Linked DNA regions of Homo sapiens: regions 1, 2, 3, 4, 5 and 7 are each linked to region 6. Evidence: promoter capture Hi-C in 16 types of primary human blood cells and fetal thymus (Javierre and others, 2016). All regions are on one chromosome and are shown on one strand. Each heading gives the region's core, a stretch centred on a gene start or on the middle of the fragment in contact. The rest is flanking DNA. Distances are from core to core; before and after follow the strand shown.

Region 1 (2,700 bases), core at 1-2,500, 170 kb before region 6:
TGAATGTATTTTGGTTCTTCCCATACACATCAAATCCTTTATGTTTCTCCCTAATATATTTCAGATAAATTTGTACTTAAAAGAATAAATATATGTACATATATAATTAATACTTCATTTAAGTAGAGGAGAATAAAGAAAGCTTGCAGACAATCACTTAGCAGGATAAACTATATTTAGTGCACATAAACATCTCCCTGTTAAATAAGTAGAAGTGGTGATTAATGGATGTAAACAGAAGGCTTATTTGACTCTATCATTTTTACTTGGTTAAGACAGCAGAAAGTTCACCCACTTGTTTCCAAGGAATTTCCTTTCCCTCAGCCCTGTTCTCTCACCAGACTAGCTCCTGTGACCACTGGAGAACACCACACACAAAAGTGTACTGTTTTTATAAATTTATTAAAAGAAATAAATTGATATTTACCTGGTGGCACATCTAATATTAATGTCTTATCAGGAGCAGTACATGAATTATGAGATATGGAAACAGACGCATTTTTACATTCTGTAAGGTTATGCACCTCATTGTTTGTGCAAGTATTGTTTCCACATTCCACATTCTCATTAACATTTAGCTTTGCTGTAAATAATTTAGTTTCCTTGTTATATAAGTAATCCACAGTGATGTTTGCATATTTTTCATCTAAAAGAAAATAGAACATTGAGTGTTATTTTTCCAGAATAAATAAAACTACATTAATGCAAATGCCAAAATATCAAATCAACTAACCAAATATCCCCAAAAAACATGAAAAAGAAAAAACACATTAGGTGCCTCCATATCATTTTTTTCGTAATTATCTGTGCTTTACTGCCCTAACAAGGACCTCAGCTTGTAAATTTATATTTGGATGATTACCAGATAAGTGTCTGTCTTCCTAGCTGGACTTGGAACTTCCATGAGAGCAAAGTCTAGGCTATTTTTATTATCACTGTAAATTCAGGAGTATGCATAATATGTATCATTAATGGGAACTCACTAGTTACTTGTTGACTTGATGCACAAATAAATGATGCATTTGAGAAATTTATTCTTGCTTTATAATTTTCTTGTTTTCTAAAACGTAGTTATTAACCACCTGTTTCTTGATATATGTGGGGCATTAATTACTCAGGGATCAGAAGCCCTCATTCTTTCCTTAACTTGGGTAAAATTATGATTGATAATATACCTCCAAAGCACCTTTGTTTAGTGTCAACAATTTCTGCTGACTGATAAAAATATCTTTACAACAAATATAAATTTATTCATTTGTTTTTATTCAACAAAAATTATTAAGCCCTTGTCATATGTAAGACATGGTCACCAATACTAGGAATTCAAAGGCAAGTTAGATATAATCAGCTTTTAGAAATGTATAATCCAGTGTGGAGGCAGACACAAGCATGAATTGCAGGAGACATACAAACCTCTAAAATAAGATTATGCAGGAAATAATGTGGCACTAGAAAGAGAGAGATCTGTTCCATTTGGAGGTATAGGACAGGATTTCCAGAGAAAGTGACTTAGTTTGTGTTTTAAAATATGAGCAGGAAATAGAAAAATAGACATGGGGTTTGGGGGATGAGGTTGGAGCAGAATTCCAATTGTAGAGGAAGAGCAGGAGTGGCCACAGAGGCAGGAAGGAACAGTATGTGTTTACAAATCTGTAAGTGGGCCAGGCGTGGTGGATCATGCCTGTAATCCTAGCATTTTGGAAGGCCGAGTCAGGTTGATCACCTGAGGTCAGGAGTTCAAGACCAGCGTGGGCAACATGGTGAATCCCAATCTCTACTAAAAATACAAAAATCAGCTGGGCTCGGTGGCATGTGCCTATAGTCCCAGCTACTTGGGAGGCTGAGGCAGGAGAATCACTTGAACCCAGGAGGCAGAGGTTGCAGTAAGCTGAGATTGTACCACTGCACTCCAGCCCGGGCAACAGAGTGAGAAAAAAAAAAAAAAAAGAAAGAAAGAACTAACGAATGAAAGAAAGAAAGAAAAGAAAACTGAAAGTGGTTCCATATTACTTAAGTGAAGAACATAAGGAGGCAATGATTCAAGAGGCGGGAGGAGAGATGAATGACAACCGGATTACAAAAGATCATATTAATTAAACAGACATATGAAGGCCACTCTTTACACTAAATGTATGGAAAGCTACTGAAGGCAGTGACTCCAGTGGTTAGACTTAGAAATGAATGGAGGAATAAGCCCTGACCATGAAGAACCGCTTTGCTTCAACTGAGAATCAAGGAAGAAAATGAGAAAAAAAAAAAGAGAGACAAACTGTTTTCAAGTATCTGCTTTGAGCCAGCCCCTAACAAGCAAGACAGAAAGAGAGAGAAAAAGAGAGATTTTTCTTCTTGATAAGCTTTGAAGGTATTATCCACATTTTATATTTATCATCACACTGAATCCTTGTCCCCCTCCCCCTCACCAACAAACTTGCTGTTATTCCATTTTTTTTTCAAATACCTAAATTAAATTAAGTGGCTTTACCAAAGTTGTCTAACTGGAAAACTTAGTTTTCAACTTTTATTTTGGATTCCAGGGTTATATGTGCAAGTTTGTTACAAAGGTATATTGCAGGATGCTGAGGTTTGCAGTAAAATTGAATTCGACGCCCAGCAAGTAGGCACAGTTCCCAATATAGGTAGTTTCCCAACCCTTGTCTTCCTCCCTCCATCATCGCTCTTGTATTTCCCAGTGTCTATCAT
Region 2 (2,700 bases), core at 155-2,654, 200 kb after region 6:
GAGTGAAGGGGGAGGTGCTATACACGGAAACAATCAGATCTTGTGAGAACTCTGTCACAAGACAGTGCGAGGGGGATTGTGCTAAACCATTAGAAACCACCCCCATGATCCAATCACCTCCCACCAGGCCCCACCTCCAACAATGGGAATTACAATTCAACATGAGATTTGAGCAGGGACACAGAGCCAAACCATATCAACTTCCAATCATTATTGACAGTGATCCCTAATGGTAGACTGCTGACATGGTAGAGTGATAATGAACAGAGGCAGAATCGAACACCAAAGAAGAAGGCTGACCCATCAAAGCAAGGGATTCTTAGGAAAAAAGGTAGGCATGCCCATTGGAATGTCAGTGCCCACACTGGAAATGGAAGTGGAGCTCAACAGATGGTTAGAAGTAGATGACTAGTTTTGATGATAAAAATTGATGAGACGTTTTCAGGGTTTTTTTCATTTAATAGACATTACGATAGGTCCCCCTAAAGATGTCCATGGCCTAATCCTTAGAGCCTGTGAACATGTTATCTTACCTGGCAAAAGTGTCTTTGCAGATGTGCTTAAGATTGAGGACCTTGAGATTGGGAGAGTACTGTGGATAATACAGATAGGCCCAATCTAATCACATGAGTTCTTAAAGGCAGAGAATCTTTCCCAACTGCAGAGAACCAGAGAGATGGCAGCATCAGAAGGATTCTACCTGCAGTTTCTGGCTTTGAAGATGGAAGAAGGGGCCATGAACCAAAGAAAGTGGGGAGCCTCTAGAAGTAGGAAAAGGCAAAGGAACACATTCTCCCCTAGAGCCTCCAGAAGGAATCAGCCCTGCTGAAATCTTATGAGACTCCTCTAAGATTTCTGACCTACAGGACTGTAAGATAATAACTTTGTATTATTTAATTTACTATAGCCCCAATAGAAAATGAAGATAAATATTTATGGAGTGCACCCTGGGCCAGCACTTGGGCTAAATACTAAAGCTACAACAGTGTGCAGAGTAGACCCCTTCCTGCCCTAATGAGGCTGACAGTCTGGGAATTAAGGTTTCTAAACCAAGTGAAAACTGTAGTAGAAATAAGTATAAAATAGGGAGGAAGATTCTTGTTAAGGCACTTACCTTCGGTTATATTGTCTCCAAACTATACTCCATATCTTAAAAACAGACAATTTCTGAATCAATTTTTCTTTAGTGTGTGTTTCACAAAAATTTAATGAATTTATATAAGTAACTTCAGGAACTTTTACTGTTGAGATAAAGTAGTACTCAAAAATGAATTTTAAAAAAAGAGTAAATAATTCTACAACATTATTTAGAAAGAACTTCCAGAGGGGATGAGGAGGATGAATAGCTAACAATGAACTTGGCAGAGGTAATAAAAACAAATGACCTAAAAACAGAAATACCATTTGATCCAGCAATCCTGTTTACTGGGTATATACCCAAAGGAATATAAATCATTCTATCATAAAGACACACATACACTTACATCCACTGCAGCACCATTCAGAATAGCAAAGACACGGAATCAACCTAAATGTTCATCAGTGGTAGACTGGATAAAGAAAACATGGTACATATATACCATGGAATACTATGCAGCCATTAAAAAGAATGAGATCATGCCCTTTCCAGGAATATAAAGAGAGCTAGATGCCATTATCCTTAGCAGAATAATGCAGGAAGAGAAAACCAAATGCCACATGTTCTCATTATAAGTGGAAGCTAAATGATGAGAACACATGGACACATAGAGAGGGACAATAGACACTGGGGCCTATCAGAGGGTGGAGGGTGGGAGAAAGGTGAGGATCAGGAAAAATAGCTAATGGGTACTAGGCTTAGTACATGGGTGATAAAATAATCTGCACAACAAACCCCCATGACACAATAGCTAATGGGTACTAGGCTTAGTACCTGGGTGATAAAATAATCTGCACAACAAACTCCCATGACACACATTTACTGTATCATAAGCCTGCACATGTACCCCTGAACCTAAAATAAAAGTTAAATTTAAAAATAATAAAATTTGAAAAAAGGATCTTCATTTTGTCTTAAGGACATTATTGAGTGACTTTACTCTTGAGCATGGTTTGCCAAAAGGATATGAACTAGTTAGAAATACTTAAAATCATCAAATAATTTGAAATGATTACACCATCTCAGCAATAAATGAGATATTAAATTTAAAAAATGACATACAGAGTTAAAAGCGGAAGGCTACAAATGTTTATGTGTAGTTTAGTAAAATTGGTTATTTATGAGCCACTACACAGAAATACAAATACATATATACCTATGACACATTGATTAACTGATTTTAAGTCACAAATATCTGAAGAAATGAAGCACGTTCTTTCATTATTCGACTTCAAAAATATATTTTGTATTTGGATTTAATGCAATATATTAAAGTGAATGCCATTTCTTGAGAAATAAAATACCTTCTTTTTTTGTTTTCACTGACAGATCCAATTGGCTTAGCTGGGAAGACAAAAAAAAATTGAAATAACTGACTTAAATAATCAGTCTACCCTTTTGGTGAAGATTAGCATGCTTAACTATATCATGTATCCTTATAGAAAATGCATCCTAATTTATGTGAAGATAAATTGGGAAGGAGACAGAAACCCATATTAATGGGAATATTGAGAAAGTGCCTTCTATCTGGCTTTAATAAAATAATGAACAATATTTTTAAA
Region 3 (2,700 bases), core at 159-2,658, 140 kb before region 6:
GATTGTTTAATACAAATTACACTACAATATATGTAAACATTCTTTATGAACAATACTGGGAAAGTGTGGAAAATAGGTAAAGCAAAATATGTGACATAGCAATGGAAATTAAGAGGGCACATGTGTAGGTGTGTGACAATAAAGAGAAGGCATCACTATTTCTCAAAGTAAGAACTGCATTGAGCTTTCTCTCAAATTCTATAAACACATCAAATAAATATAAAATAAAACACAGTAATATATCTAGTGTTCCACATATTACAGTTACTACATTCTACACTTTGACTTTTATCTTCTAGGGATGAAATTTTCTACATTTTTTAAAACTTAAATGTCTTGTGTTTTCATTATTTAGTCAAAGGAGTATTTAGTAATATTTCAGTAGGTGGCACCATAGCACTAAAAAACTGTAAATTATCTAAGAGCTCTTTTTCCCATTATAATCCTGTTGTGAATCACCAATGGAATTGACTAGATACATTAAACAGATGAAAATGTAGATAACAGAACACTTGATCTTCAAAGCTGTGTTATTCTAACACATGTATTGTTACTGAATTTACCTTTCCCAATATGTTTCTTTTACAACTCAAAATGTTTAAATGATCACAAATCAAAGTTACCTTGAAGTCACACCCCTAAGTCCCTGATCAGAGATTTCAGCAAAAACTAGGAATCAATTTGAGTGAAAACGGCATTTCAAAAGACATACTTGGGCTTTAAATATCACCCGTTCTCCCTCCCCGCTAAAAAAAAAAGAAAAAAAAATGGGATGCTATTTCCTAGGGAATTTAAACCTGTCTAGTTCTGCAAATCTGGGAAAAGTACAAGGGCAGAAGGGTAAAATAGAATAGATTAAATAAATACTTATTCTCAGCATCTGCCCTAAAATGAATGATAGCATGTTTTGAAGGTTGAGAATGCATACTTGACCTCCATAAACATAAAGCCTGTACAAAAGTGGAAAAAAGCAAATCAAGACAAAAAATAAGGGTCAGCTAAAACAGATATGTATGGCTTTCCTTTCTTAGCAATGCATGATAATAATAAAGTGCACAATAAAAATAAGAGAATTGCACTTTTTTTATGCTAGAAATCTGCTATATGGTCCACAGACAATAAATCTAACAAATCATATTAAATTATTAAGTATTTATGGAGTAAGCACTCTGGGCAGCGACAAGCCAGGTATTATGATTTCAGAGAACCACAGGAAACAGTCTTTTCTACCCTCCATTAGCTTATCAGTAAATATAATAATGATGGCAACAGTTTACTGAAATGTTATGTAGCAGACACTATGCACACCTCTTTATATAATATATATGTATTTTTTTTCTTTTAAGCATCCCAGTAAGCCAATGAGTTAGCATTATTTATCCTTTTTTATAGGGAATGAAACTGGGACCTAAAAGAGTTTAGTAAATTGCTCACAGGCACACACGAGGAAAGTGCTAGATTTGAAATAGTGTCTATTTAATAATTTTCTTATTCTTTATGTAGACGTTATGTTAAAATATTGGGTATATTAATATTATTTTTGGAATCTCATGAGTAAAGGACTTTCTGCTTATCATCAGAAAATAATTCCAAAGATTTCTACTCAGACAGAAGCAAAGGATTTTAGTGATTATTGACATGCAGTTCATTTGATATATAAGGAAACTAAGACTCAGTGAGTGTAGTGCCTTTCTGATTTCATTCAATCTAGTTAAAGCACATGAATTTATGAGCTCCACCAATGTCCAAAGAATTTCAACATCCCTTTATTGAGGCCTTTTATTAAATACAAATGGACATCCAAGAAACACTAGAACAAAGCCTCTAATAAGAAAGAAAGATAGAGCTCAAATAAACAAAAGAGGCACTTGGGAGAATGAGGCAATGCAAGGAGCAAAAGAGAGGATAACCAACTACAATTCATATTTTCAGAAATGAGAAAACATTGCACCCATGAACAAAGAGCAAGAGGTTATAAAAAGCAACATCTCAAGATCAAGAGAAGAAGTCAATAGATACTGGCAAAAATCTTTTTTTTTGTTTTAAAGAAACAGCACTACAATAAAAGATAACATTTAAAAATCACAAAATATCAAGGGAGGGGAGAGTCGTGGGAGCAAAAGACTGTTCTTACTTACTCTAGGCCTTATGGTACTATTTAAACTTTCAAATTATATACACACTTTTAAATAATAATGCAAATAATAAAGAAAAATATCAGTATGTAAAGCAGTATTGAGGATAAAGAAGGCAAATTTTTGTGGCCATGAGAGGAATAAAATCAAATAATTAAAAAATTTTAAAGATAGCAACCATATCTAGCTGTCTCCCAATGACTTATGGTGTCCAATATTTACAATAATGTTTTTTGCTTGTGAATACATATGACTTTGCAAACACACACCTCAAAACTAGGAATGCATTTGTAGGTATTTTATATTTGGTTTAAAACATCATGTTATATATTTCAGGCATGTTGATTAACGAAACAATTAATGACAAAAAAATTAATAAAGGCTACTAGATAACCATTTAAGAACAATCAGTTACACTGCTTTTTTTCTGTCTTAAACTATTTATCTACAAGTCAGGGGGAAAATTTTATCGCTTCCTGTGCAATGATGGTCAAATTGAAGTCTTTGATTTAGATTTGTGTGCCTTTAAATGTCCCATAGTCAAATTTGTTTCAGAAGTAATTCA
Region 4 (2,778 bases), core at 32-2,531, 220 kb before region 6:
AAAAGCTTATCCACCATGATCAAGTAGACTTTATCCCTGGGATGCAAGGTTGGTTCAACAAACACAAATCAATAAATGTGATTCATCACAGAAACAGAACTAAAGACAAAAACTACATGATTATCTCAATAGCTGCAGAAAAGATTTTTGATCAAATTCAACATCCATTCATGTTGAAATCTCTTGATAATCTAGGTATTGAAGAAACATACCTCAAAATAATGAGCGCCACATATGATAAACCCACAGCTACCATCATACTAAATGAGTAAAAGCTGGAAGTATTCCCATTGAAAACCGCCACAAGACAAGGATGCCCTCTCTCGCCACTACTGTCCAACATAGTATTGGAAGTTCTGGCCAGGGCAATCAGGCAAGAGAAAGAAAGCAAGGGCATGCAAATAGGAAGAGAGGAAGTCAAACTATTCCTGCTTGTAGCCGTCATGATCCTGTATCTAGAAAATCCTATAGTCTCAGCCCAAAAGCTTCTCAGGATAATGAATAACTTTAGCAAAGTCTCAGGATACAAAATCAATGTGCAAAAATCACTAGCATTGCTATAACCAACAATAGCCAAGCTGAGAGGCAAACTCCCATTCACAATTGCCACAAAAATAATAAAATGCTTAGGAATACAGCTAACTAGAGAGGTGAAGTCTCTCTCTGCAAGGAGAACTACAAATGTTCTTTTAAGTGAAGTAGATATAGTTGATTCTTTCATGTTAAAGCTGCGAGATTAAAAAAAATAGGATGCCAAGTTAAATTTAAATTTCTAATAAACAAGAAACAATTTTTGGTGCAAATATGTCCCAAATACTGCATGAGACATACTTGCACTAAAAAACTATTCTTGTTTCATTTAAAATTCGAATGTAACCCAATGCCTTGTATTTTATCTGACAATCAAATTTCATGTCATTTTGAAGAAAGTAATCATGGATAGTTTGAATAAAGAAGAAGAGTTTTCTTTACGGGATCTTAGCAAAAAACAAGAATTCATTTGTTGTAAGTTATCAAAAGCTTTTAATTGTCCTACAAATATAATTAAAATTTAGGAATCACTTTTGATTTGGGCAAAGAATAAAATGTAAAGAGAAATGTAAAGAGGTTTACAAAAGAATGAATACAAATAAAATGGACCCTTAGAAGAATAAATATTTTCACTTAAAACAGGACATAAAAAAGCCTAATTTTGAATGTCTTTGAAGAACCTTCAGATCATTCCAGATGTAAAATTTGTGTAGGAGATTGAAAGCATAGCCTTTTCTACTCATTTTAACAGATATTCATTTCCTTTGAAGTGATATATTTTAAGGTCTTCATATCAAGAAACATGCTGCAATTAGCTAGGAGCAAATAGCATTCACTTATTCAGATCTAATATGGTGTTATGAAATCATCTTATAACCAATATCTGGTATAAATCTAAAATTAAGATCAGTCCTAGTTAGTTGTAAAAATAAATTTTATGTTTAATATTTTAGAGGGAAAAAAACAGGAAAATTTCTCTGTACAAATATAAGAATTCTGAGGGGAAGCTTAACGCATTTAAAATTATCTTTGCAAAGACAGATGTTCAGCTAATCACTTTACACAGTTTTCCTCTTGCAAGAAAATATTAAAATATATATATCTCTTAAATGAAAATATTTATTTGTCACTTATGTACACAATTAATAGCTTGGGACCTGAAGTTTAGGCTTACTAAATGTATCTTTTATTCCCATTGAATTCTAATACCAGGAATAAAGCAAACAACTTTAAAAGAAACCTAGAAGTTTCTTTTTGCCCAATAAATGTAATGTTCTGGATTCATAACATTATCCCTACAGTGTACCAGGCTTTTGTAAGTCAAAACTTTTTGCTTAATATTTCTGACTGGATCCTAGAATTAATAATGGCAGTGCCAAACTTTAGCAAATAAATCTTTTATACCTTGTAACAGATCCCCATTAATGCAACCCATGGCCATAGACATAGACCTATAATTCACATATTATTTCTTTCTACAGGTAAAAATCATAGACATATAATTCCATGTTCTAGTGCCATGGGTCTCACCTTCGGTTTAGTATATGTTCTCACAAAGTAGTGGGCTTTCTGAGCCACTATTTCATCTCTTTCTTTACAACAAATTCCCATATGTAGAAAAAAAGTCTCAAGCTTGATTCTTAAACTAATAGAAATTATTATTGCTCTATTTTCTAAGTAGTTTTTAATCTTTCAAAAGATAGTGTCAGGTGGAAAACACATTTAAAACACACAACTACATTTGGAAGATGTTACTTGCAATTGAAACTTCTGAAGAAAAACTTTGCTTGTAGATTATTTAGACTTTCTGCTATTTGTATTTTGAAGCAATTAACAGATAAAGTAGGCATACATCATAATGTTCTATTGAACATGAGAACTGCAAATTTTAACTACATTATCTAGAAAATGGCAACTGATCAAGTTTCAATAAAAGAAAAGAATGCATAATAGTTTGAGTGACTGAAGAGGTAAGTGAAAGCAAACTTTATTTTTTGTGCCCATAATTGGTGATTCTAATCCCCTTTTCTCATTAATAAGTAAAGATGTAATAAGTAACCTTAATATAAATTAGAAACTGTGGCTTCATTGTAAAATTTACTTCTTTTCATCTGTTAAATAAGCACAAGGATCTATATACTACTATAAGGGTTAATTGTTAATTTTATATGTTACAATAGTGAAATAATTAGAAGTAGGGACACAAAATAAATGTGAGTTGAATGGACAATAATCGGTGCTGTATAG
Region 5 (2,700 bases), core at 40-2,539, 200 kb before region 6:
TCTTTCATTGATATGTATTTCACTTTTTTTTTTTTTTTTTTTTTGCTATTTTGACAATGCTGAATGCAATGCACATTCTTGCAAATGTTTCTAGTTGATGCTTCTCTTGGGTATATGCATATATGTGATTTTGCTGGGTCAAATACAGACATTTTCAGTAATTACCATCACTTACAATCACCAAATGCATAGCATGGGCCAGGGACTTGTTTAAGTGCTTTATTTGTATTACTTTTGTGGTTATAAGTCTGTGAGGTATTATCATTGTCTCCATTTTACAGATGACTTAACTGAGGTGCAGTCAGACTAAAATTACTTAATAAACAATACCACTCACCCTCGTATTAATAATTAAAAGCAAGATTTGAAACCTGTAAGTGTAGTTTCTAAAACCAGCTGTTGATTACTATACTATTCTGTCTCTTCAGTTTAATTTTATGAGATGATGCCAAATCTATTTTCAGCATTTTTACTTTTTTTGCCAATCTGATATATGTTAACAGTAGTTCATTATTTTAAAAATTATATATTTTGTGGTCATCTTTCTTCCACAGTACTTTTAGGCACTAATGAAAAATGCTTCTAAGTATTTCTGGTGATTACCACGTTTTAGTTTTCAGGAAATCATCTACTGTTTGAGGTTGTGAAGAATTTGGATTTTTAAAAAATATCATTATTATCACTTGGAAAAGATTTAAGTCCAAAAAACCAAAGTGAGAATAATCACTAAAGGTTAGAACATACCTCTACTTGAACCATCAGGCATCTCTGTCGCCTTAGCTTGACAACATAACCATAAACATCCACTTTGTTCTCGGCTTCCAGGCCTTCTAGCATGGCATCAATTCCGATATAGGTTCCTGTGCGCCCAACACCAGCACTGGCAAACCAAGCAAAAAAAAGCAGAGGCATGATCATGGAAAAGCTGTCAGGTGTGAAGCCAATATAAGAATCTAAGCTTCTCCCATAGGTTGTTTCCCAAAATAGCAATTGCCAAAGGGAAAGATGTCTCTAACAGCCCTAGGCAGGTGGATTCTGTTGGAGTTTTTTTGTTGTTGTTTTTTTTTTTTGTTCGTTTTTCCTACCTGCAGTGCACCACAATGGGACCACTGAAGAAATTGCTGAAGGCATTCACTCTCCTTCTCAGTTTGAGGAGCAAGTGAGGATCCTCAGGCACCCCGTGGTCTGGCCAGCTGGTGAACTGAATGTGAGTCACCTCTCTTCCAGTTGCTTTTTCTTTTTTCTAGTCAAGAGATAATATTTTCTTTGAGATGATTTTTTTAAAGCAAACTATGAAACATAAATAAGTGGAAGGGAGTACCAGTACAAAGTCTCCTCGTGTAAACATAAACTACTCAAAAGAGTTCATAGTTTCCTCAGGTGTCTTATATATTTTCTCAACCATGGTTGTGTTTTCCTTTCTAATCAATAACTAGTAGTTAAGATATTGTGCAGGACTTGCATGTACTACCCTGTAAGCAATAACTTAACAGTAAGGTAAGTAAGGTAATACTTTCTTTAAAAGTATAACCAAAATTTCTAGGAACTTGCATGCTGTCAAGCAAAAAAAACCCAAAATAAACATACACCATAAAAGTGGGGTGCATGGGTGGAAGCTTTTTGGATTTGTGTTTAAAATGATTTGGTAAAGGTCATTCTCACAACTGTTTAAAATACTTCTGCTTGATAGGCCAGCAAACAGAACTAATTCATATGTGAGCAAAGTCTGATTAATTATTTGATGAACATTGTATTCCTTAGGCCTTCACATGGTAGCATTGTCAACACAGAATGTAGAGAGACGACTGAGGAAAGTCAGCCCCAGATTAGAGCTCAGGTTTGTTCTAATTTCAAGGTAACCACCATAAGATGCATAAGTCATAATTCTATGGCCAGGTATAAAGAACCATCTACATTTAGATAACAAAAGAAACACACAAACTGAGTTAATTAACACCAGTAAACCCAGACTACAGAATGTAGCCAGATAGGCATCAATCTAGAAATATATCCTCATATCTATGGAGCAGGTGCCTTTGTGGCTTAGTCAAACAAGTGTTTGGCCAGAAACTATTGATAGGATTGTTTCACAGCACTCTATAGACATAACAATTAGTAATACCATGGAAACCTAAGAAGACCTACGGAGATATATAGACTAAGTCTGTTTCTCCTGTAGAAAATATAGCTAGACTATACAAAAATAAAATTTAGATTACTAAAAGCCCTACAATAAATGAAATTAAGAGAAAATCTTAACCCCCATGTAAAGACTTGTAGTTTTTTAAACAGCTCTATCAAGAGACATTTTACAATCTTGATAGGTTGCATGTATCTAGGAATTTATCCATTTCTTCTAAGTTTTCCAATTCATTAGCATATAACTGCTCATAGTAGCATCTCATAATCTTTTAAATTTCTGAAGTATCAGTGGCAATGTCTCTTTTTTCATCTCTGACTGTACGCATTTGAGTCTCCACTCTTTTTTCCTTAGTCTGACTAAAGGTTTGTCAATTTTATCTTTTTTTTTGAGATAAAGTCTCACTGCAAAGCCCAGGCTTGAGTGTAATGATGCAATCTTGGCTCACTGCAACCTCGGCTTCCCAGGTTCAAGTGATTCTACTGCCTCAGTCTCCCAAGTAACTGGGATTACAGGTGCATGCCACCACACCTGGCTAATATTTTTTTGTATTTTTAGTA
Region 6 (2,700 bases), core at 32-2,531:
ATCCCAGTTACACCAGGTATTTAATTACGCAATACAAATTAAGTACTTTATAAGCTGATTAAATGTGACTTCAAAAAAAAAAAAAAAAGTAAAAGTGATCCTGTGGAAAAGTTTTTCCTTTTGAAAATATTTGCTGAAAATGCACACATAATGTAGGCATGCAGATATGGATGAGACAACTTGAAAAGATTAGGAGAAAATAATCATTAAAGCCTTAAAAGATTTAGTGCCCAGATTGTTTTACAATTGTCTTTAAATCCAGACACCTTATTAAAGAAAATGAACCTGGCACTTACATATGAGGCAATAGAGGTATAGTTTATGAAAGCAATAATACGTGAAACCCCAATCTGCAAATCGTATCGGGGGGAAAGCCTTATTCTAAGTCAACAGATTAGCTTTTCACTTCAAATAAAAATTTTAGATACATATAAATGATACTTTGTGGTTCTTCTCTGTGACCAATATTCTGATTTGTCCAATTGCTACTGGATCGAATCAAATCAAGTATGATGGATTTTATTGTATTATCTTAGGACAATACTCACCACAAACACTGAATAATATAAAATGCATGTTTAAATTATTTTAACTTAATCCCAAAACCTACAGTTATAGTCTATTTCTATCATGATTACTACTACTAAAATTACTAATTGTTTAGTCACCATAGTAAGATCTTCCTGGAACTTCAACCTACAGCATTACTTAAGAGCAGCACAATGCCCAAAAGAAATCTTTTTATTCCAGTCACCTGAGACCTTGGGGGAAAAAAATCCTTAGTCCACCATCTATGCACAAAGCTAGGGAATCTCTTTCCTAACAAAAGATTAACACGTTTTCTCCAAGCAGATAACTGAATCACTAGAAACAAATAAAGAAAAAGACCTGAAACAAAGTACTGCAGGTACAAAGAGCAAAGATCTTGTTACTTAAAAGAAAAACTCAGTAAACATGTCAATGTTTCTTGGAAGATTAGGGAAACCAACATTCTTAAAAGGTCTCTTATTCATTATTTATAAGTAGATGCAACACCTCATTTATACCTCCTTATCTCATACAGAAGAGCTAAGATTGGCAGAAATGGTAAGTTCTCAATTTATGCACATTGGTTTAACTTGTTTTTCTAGATTCCACCTTGGGCTTTCCTTGGGACCCAGCTATCCAGCCCAATAAAGCCAGTTTGAAACAGCTGCATTTGGAACTTGCTGTTGACACAATAATCTGAGTTATATGTTAATTTCTAAAAGAATAAATGAACCCATTACTTCCCAGATTTCACAGAAGCCACTTGCTTGGAGCAGACTACCATGACAAGCCAGTCTCAGGGGATCCACCAGCTTCTTCAGGCAGAAAAACGGGCCAAGGACAAGCTAGAGGAAGCCAAGAAGAGTAAGTCTCACCTGTGAGGGGTCTGTCACGAAATAAACAAAGCAGTGGAATGCAGGGATAAGCATAGACTTTTGGATTAGGCAGACCTTGTTTCAAACTTTGGTTTACTGTACTCCCTGTGAGACCTTCACCCATTCATTAAAATTACCCAGCCATATGTTCCTTATTTCTAGAGCAGGGATGAAGTTTCCTCATTCAGATCCTTTTGAGAGGTCATGTGTTCATGGACATTAAGATTATAGAGATGTGGGCTTAAGCCTTGGCTATGCCATGCCTGTTTTCTCAACATTGTTAGGGGGTAGAAAACCTCTGGATTGAATCTACTTATTAGTGAGTAAACCTGAGCAAATTACTTATTTTTTATAAGCATCAGTTTTCATTTCCATAAAATCAGAATAATAATGGCTCATTCTCATCCCTCTCTTGGTAGCTTTTTAACATCTAATATTTTAAAATATTTTCATTTTATTCTCATTTTCTACCTCTCTTTTTATTTTTATTAATTTATTTTTTAAGAGATGAGGGTCTCACTATGTTGCCCTGGCTGAACTCCAACTCCTGGACTCAAGAGATCCTGCTGCCTCAGCCTGCCAAGTAGCTGGGACTACAGGCACTTGCCACTGTACTCAGCTCTCTTTTCATTTGGTCATGCATTCATGTACTTACATATAGAATGTCCTCAATGAACTTCAACACCTTTTCTATTCTCTTTGATACAACAGCCAAATGAATAGGATATTAACATTATTCCCAATGTATGCAGAAATGGAGTCACTGATTTGTTCAAGGTTATATTTTAAAAATAGAAAATATTGTGCCAGGCACCATGCTCATTGCTTATCTTTATTCCTCACAACCTTTACTGAAAAAGCAAAAGTGATGCTTAGAGAAATTATACAACTTGTCTAAGGTCACACAGAGGGTAAATGGTAGAGACAAGATTTAGATGAGCTATAATTTCCAAGCCCAGATCTTAACCACTGTGCTTTACAAAATTTACACAATTTGCATAATAAAAAAATTAATATGTCTCAGATCTACAACTGGAATTCAGATTCCCAAGGCCAAGACATTTTTTTCACTATCCCATTTCATATCACCTCATTATTCAATCTACAATAATTTGTAGTGTCATTCACTCTCCTTGTGTGTCCTGCCTCTGCAATTAGATTCAGTCTGGCAAAACAGGGGCCATATTTTCAAAATGTTACTTATGTAACTCTTTGGATGAATGTAGTGATGGGATTGGAGTAGGTACTGAATTATTTAAACGTAATGAATGAAATGAAGGAATATATTACAACATAA
Region 7 (2,742 bases), core at 53-2,552, 180 kb before region 6:
CCCTCTAAAAACAAAAACAAAAACAAACAAAACAAAACAAACAAAAAATTCAGGTAAGACCAAGAATAAAGACAGAAACCTAGCATTTCCAGGGGAGGAAAACTTGGGAACAGACCAAAAAAAGAGAGAGAGAGAGAGAGAGAGAGAGAATCAGGATGGAATTAGAAAGTAAAATTGGATTCAGGAAAATAAGACAGAAATAATTTTTAAATTCTAAAATTTTTAACTTAGAATTTTATACCAAGTCGATACACTGAACAAGTGCCAGAGCAGAATAAAAATTTTTTTTGTATGGGAGAATTAGAATTATTTTTCTTACACTAGAGAACATATATCAGTGAACTCAGACAGAAAAAAAAATAACTATGTGTGATACAGCAAATCTAAACCAGAAAACTGATGGGGGAATATTTCAAGATGGCATGTGAGAGTCCAGATCAGAGCAAGAAGAAAGGGTCCCCAGGAGTTCAATTGACAATGATGTCAAAGTACAGGTGGTGGAATATTATGCCGGGGAAACCCAACAACACATCCCTAGTAGCTGTACCCTAGCAATTCACAGCCCAAGTCCTTTCCTGGAACAGATATCACTATTTTAAAAGAAACTATATTATTTATCTCTTAGGATAATGATATTGTGAGCAGAGAGTGAATACAATGTTGTCTCCTTTGTGGAAAAAGATGAGGGCTAATTTTTTGGCTCCGTTGACCTGGAAACCTGATAAAAGTGGAATATTAGCTGGTTACCAGACAACATTGCTAATGGCAAAATGACCCTTGATTGCTAAACTACACCTGAACAGGGAGTGCTATATGTGAACTCTATTGTCCTCATGGGAAGTACCAGCTTTGGGTTTCCCTGAGTGCAGTGCCCGCTCATAACTGAGCACACCCCTGTTGGCATGTCTGGAAGCTATGCCCATGGAAATAGTATAAGAGATACTGATTCCTTTTGGAATGCAGCTCCTACACCTACACATGTGGTCTCATTCTCTCATATCTCAGTTGTCTTTGAGAGTGTCATAAGAAAAGTAGCTGGATTGCTGTGTGCACTGCTGCAAGGATTCCCGCTGCAAGGATTCCCACTGCCAGGCTCCCTTGCTAGCATGCTGTGCTTTTTGTTCTGTGTCTTTCCAGGTGAAATGTTTCAGATCTGGCCTATTAAGATGTGAGTGTGAATGTTCAGCTGAGTCTATGACTGCTATAAATTATTTACAATTTAATAGGAAAGAGTCAATGAAGTCATTTTTATTATAAAGATATTATAAAAGAAAAAGGTAATGTGGAAATAAAATCAAAGCTATCTTGCTGGACTTTTTTGACATTTAACACAGGGAGTTTTTATTTCATAAATCTGAGCAGAAAGAACTAAAACTTTGCAGAGGGCTTAGTAAAGCAGTTTGGAAAATAAGCTGTTTTTATATTTTCTCTTTTGACTTTGCATTCATACCAGTGATTGTGCACATGCATATGTGCATATGTAACATATGTAAGAGAGGAAGAACTAGAAGTGGCAAAGATAGAAAGACCTAGAAGTTGCTGACAACAAAGTACATACAGGCTTAAATAATTCTATTTACAATGTTAACCAGTAGAGAAAGCCCAAAGTAGAGTACTAGGTCTCCTTCCTCCATAGGCTCAGATCAATTGGTAATGTTAGTAACTCTAGAAAGAGCAGTATACAATATTGTTTATATATATATATATATATATGAAGGAAACTATAAGGAGACCCAAAAATAGAAATGGTTAAAAGTGGTTGCCTGGCAAACAGAATTGTGGGTGGGGAATGTAACATGCAGCTGTTATTTTCATTATTATAATGAAATTTAATTCTAAGTAATTTTTCATGTACACCTTTACTTTGATGAAAATATTTTAAATATCAGTGATAAATATTTACATAAGTATATTGTTATTAGGGAGTGCTTATATTAGCTTCCATTAAGTAAATCAAGACAGACTTGTATCTAAGGCCCACTTCTGCTAAACATATGCTGAAGAGACAGAATAAAATAGATAATCTAAAATAGTACACGAAAAATGTTACTAACATGACGATATTTCATAAACATAAACATAATTTAATAGTTTGGGTATATAAATCCTCTTATGAATTCAACAAACCTTTAATAATTGAATCTCCTAACTTGAATTTAAGATATTGTATTTAAATATATTTACATATATATGTATGGTTTTACTGACAATTAAAAATATTACATTTACGGAAGAGATATTATTTAAGCATTTAACAATCAAATGTGATTATAAGTGTAAAATAATATAGCTTTATAAGCATTAATATATATCTTAATATATATAATAAATAGCCCAGTGATAACTTACAAGATGTTGAATGATGTAAAATAAAGGGTTCTCCAGGATAGTCTCCATTGTGAAAATAGGCCTGAATTTCAGTAACAAAAAATAAAATAATTAGTTTGCTAATGTGAATTTATATATATATATATATTATATATCACAATGTAAAACATTTATATTATCTTTCATACCATGCATACAATAAAAGTATGCTGATTTGCTTTAAACTTCAAGGTTATGTCAGTATGTTGTCAAATATATTTGAAAAGACAATCAAAAAGATATCTTATCTCACTTAGCAATAAAAATATTTATAGTTATTAAACAATTATTAAATAATTATTTAAAATAATGAAACTGGATGAAGAAATAAAATCCAATACATCAAAATATTCATAAAGTTAAAATTCCCTATTA

What was found. The method cuts DNA at HindIII sites, captures the fragments that hold promoters and counts their contacts. A CHiCAGO score of 5 or more calls a contact.
Region 1: a contact is called between a fragment that was not itself captured here and the fragment with the promoter of ATP6V1G3 in region 6, in 6 of 17 cell types (non-activated CD4 T cells, activated CD4 T cells, total CD4 T cells and 3 more). The highest score is 10.9, in non-activated CD4 T cells.
Region 2: a contact is called between a fragment that was not itself captured here and the fragment with the promoter of ATP6V1G3 in region 6, in 1 of 17 cell types (neutrophils). The highest score is 5.4, in neutrophils.
Region 3: a fragment that was not itself captured here is called in contact with the fragment with the promoter of ATP6V1G3 in region 6 in 9 of 17 cell types (non-activated CD4 T cells, naive CD4 T cells, total CD4 T cells and 6 more); the score reaches 20.2 in non-activated CD4 T cells.
Region 4: a contact is called between a fragment that was not itself captured here and the fragment with the promoter of ATP6V1G3 in region 6, in 1 of 17 cell types (non-activated CD4 T cells). The highest score is 5.3, in non-activated CD4 T cells.
Region 5: a contact is called between a fragment that was not itself captured here and the fragment with the promoter of ATP6V1G3 in region 6, in 3 of 17 cell types (non-activated CD4 T cells, activated CD4 T cells and naive CD4 T cells). The highest score is 10.9, in non-activated CD4 T cells.
Region 7: a contact is called between a fragment that was not itself captured here and the fragment with the promoter of ATP6V1G3 in region 6, in 4 of 17 cell types (non-activated CD4 T cells, activated CD4 T cells, naive CD4 T cells and 1 more). The highest score is 9.7, in non-activated CD4 T cells.

The regions. Positions count from the first base shown.
Region 1 is chr1:198,704,680-198,707,379 of GRCh38, reverse strand. It overlaps PTPRC (protein tyrosine phosphatase receptor type C), which reads right to left. Exons shown (of 33, transcript NM_002838.5): 9 at 428-646. Among named protein-coding and RNA genes, the nearest start is that of PTPRC-AS1, 39 kb to the right of the region's middle. The HindIII fragment of the contact is 2,212 bases long and covers 145-2,356 here.
Region 2 is chr1:198,334,800-198,337,499 of GRCh38, reverse strand. No RefSeq gene overlaps it. Among named protein-coding and RNA genes, the nearest start is that of NEK7, 180 kb to the right of the region's middle. The HindIII fragment of the contact is 3,725 bases long and covers 1-2,700 here.
Region 3 is chr1:198,684,013-198,686,712 of GRCh38, reverse strand. All of the region lies in intron 2 of PTPRC (protein tyrosine phosphatase receptor type C), which reads right to left. Among named protein-coding and RNA genes, the nearest start is that of PTPRC-AS1, 18 kb to the right of the region's middle. The HindIII fragment of the contact is 7,286 bases long and covers 1-2,700 here.
Region 4 is chr1:198,757,571-198,760,348 of GRCh38, reverse strand. No RefSeq gene overlaps it. Among named protein-coding and RNA genes, the nearest start is that of PTPRC-AS1, 92 kb to the right of the region's middle. The HindIII fragment of the contact is 518 bases long and covers 1,023-1,540 here.
Region 5 is chr1:198,740,412-198,743,111 of GRCh38, reverse strand. It overlaps PTPRC (protein tyrosine phosphatase receptor type C), which reads right to left. Exons shown (of 33, transcript NM_002838.5): 24 at 1,086-1,243; 25 at 745-880. Among named protein-coding and RNA genes, the nearest start is that of PTPRC-AS1, 75 kb to the right of the region's middle. The HindIII fragment of the contact is 658 bases long and covers 961-1,618 here.
Region 6 is chr1:198,539,261-198,541,960 of GRCh38, reverse strand. ATP6V1G3 (ATPase H+ transporting V1 subunit G3) reads left to right here and starts at 1,281. Exons shown (of 3, transcript NM_001376861.1): 1 at 1,281-1,392. The coding sequence starts at 1,311. The HindIII fragment of the contact is 10,140 bases long and covers 1-2,700 here.
Region 7 is chr1:198,722,084-198,724,825 of GRCh38, reverse strand. It overlaps PTPRC (protein tyrosine phosphatase receptor type C), which reads right to left. Exons shown (of 33, transcript NM_002838.5): 15 at 2,350-2,410. Among named protein-coding and RNA genes, the nearest start is that of PTPRC-AS1, 56 kb to the right of the region's middle. The HindIII fragment of the contact is 3,520 bases long and covers 1-2,742 here.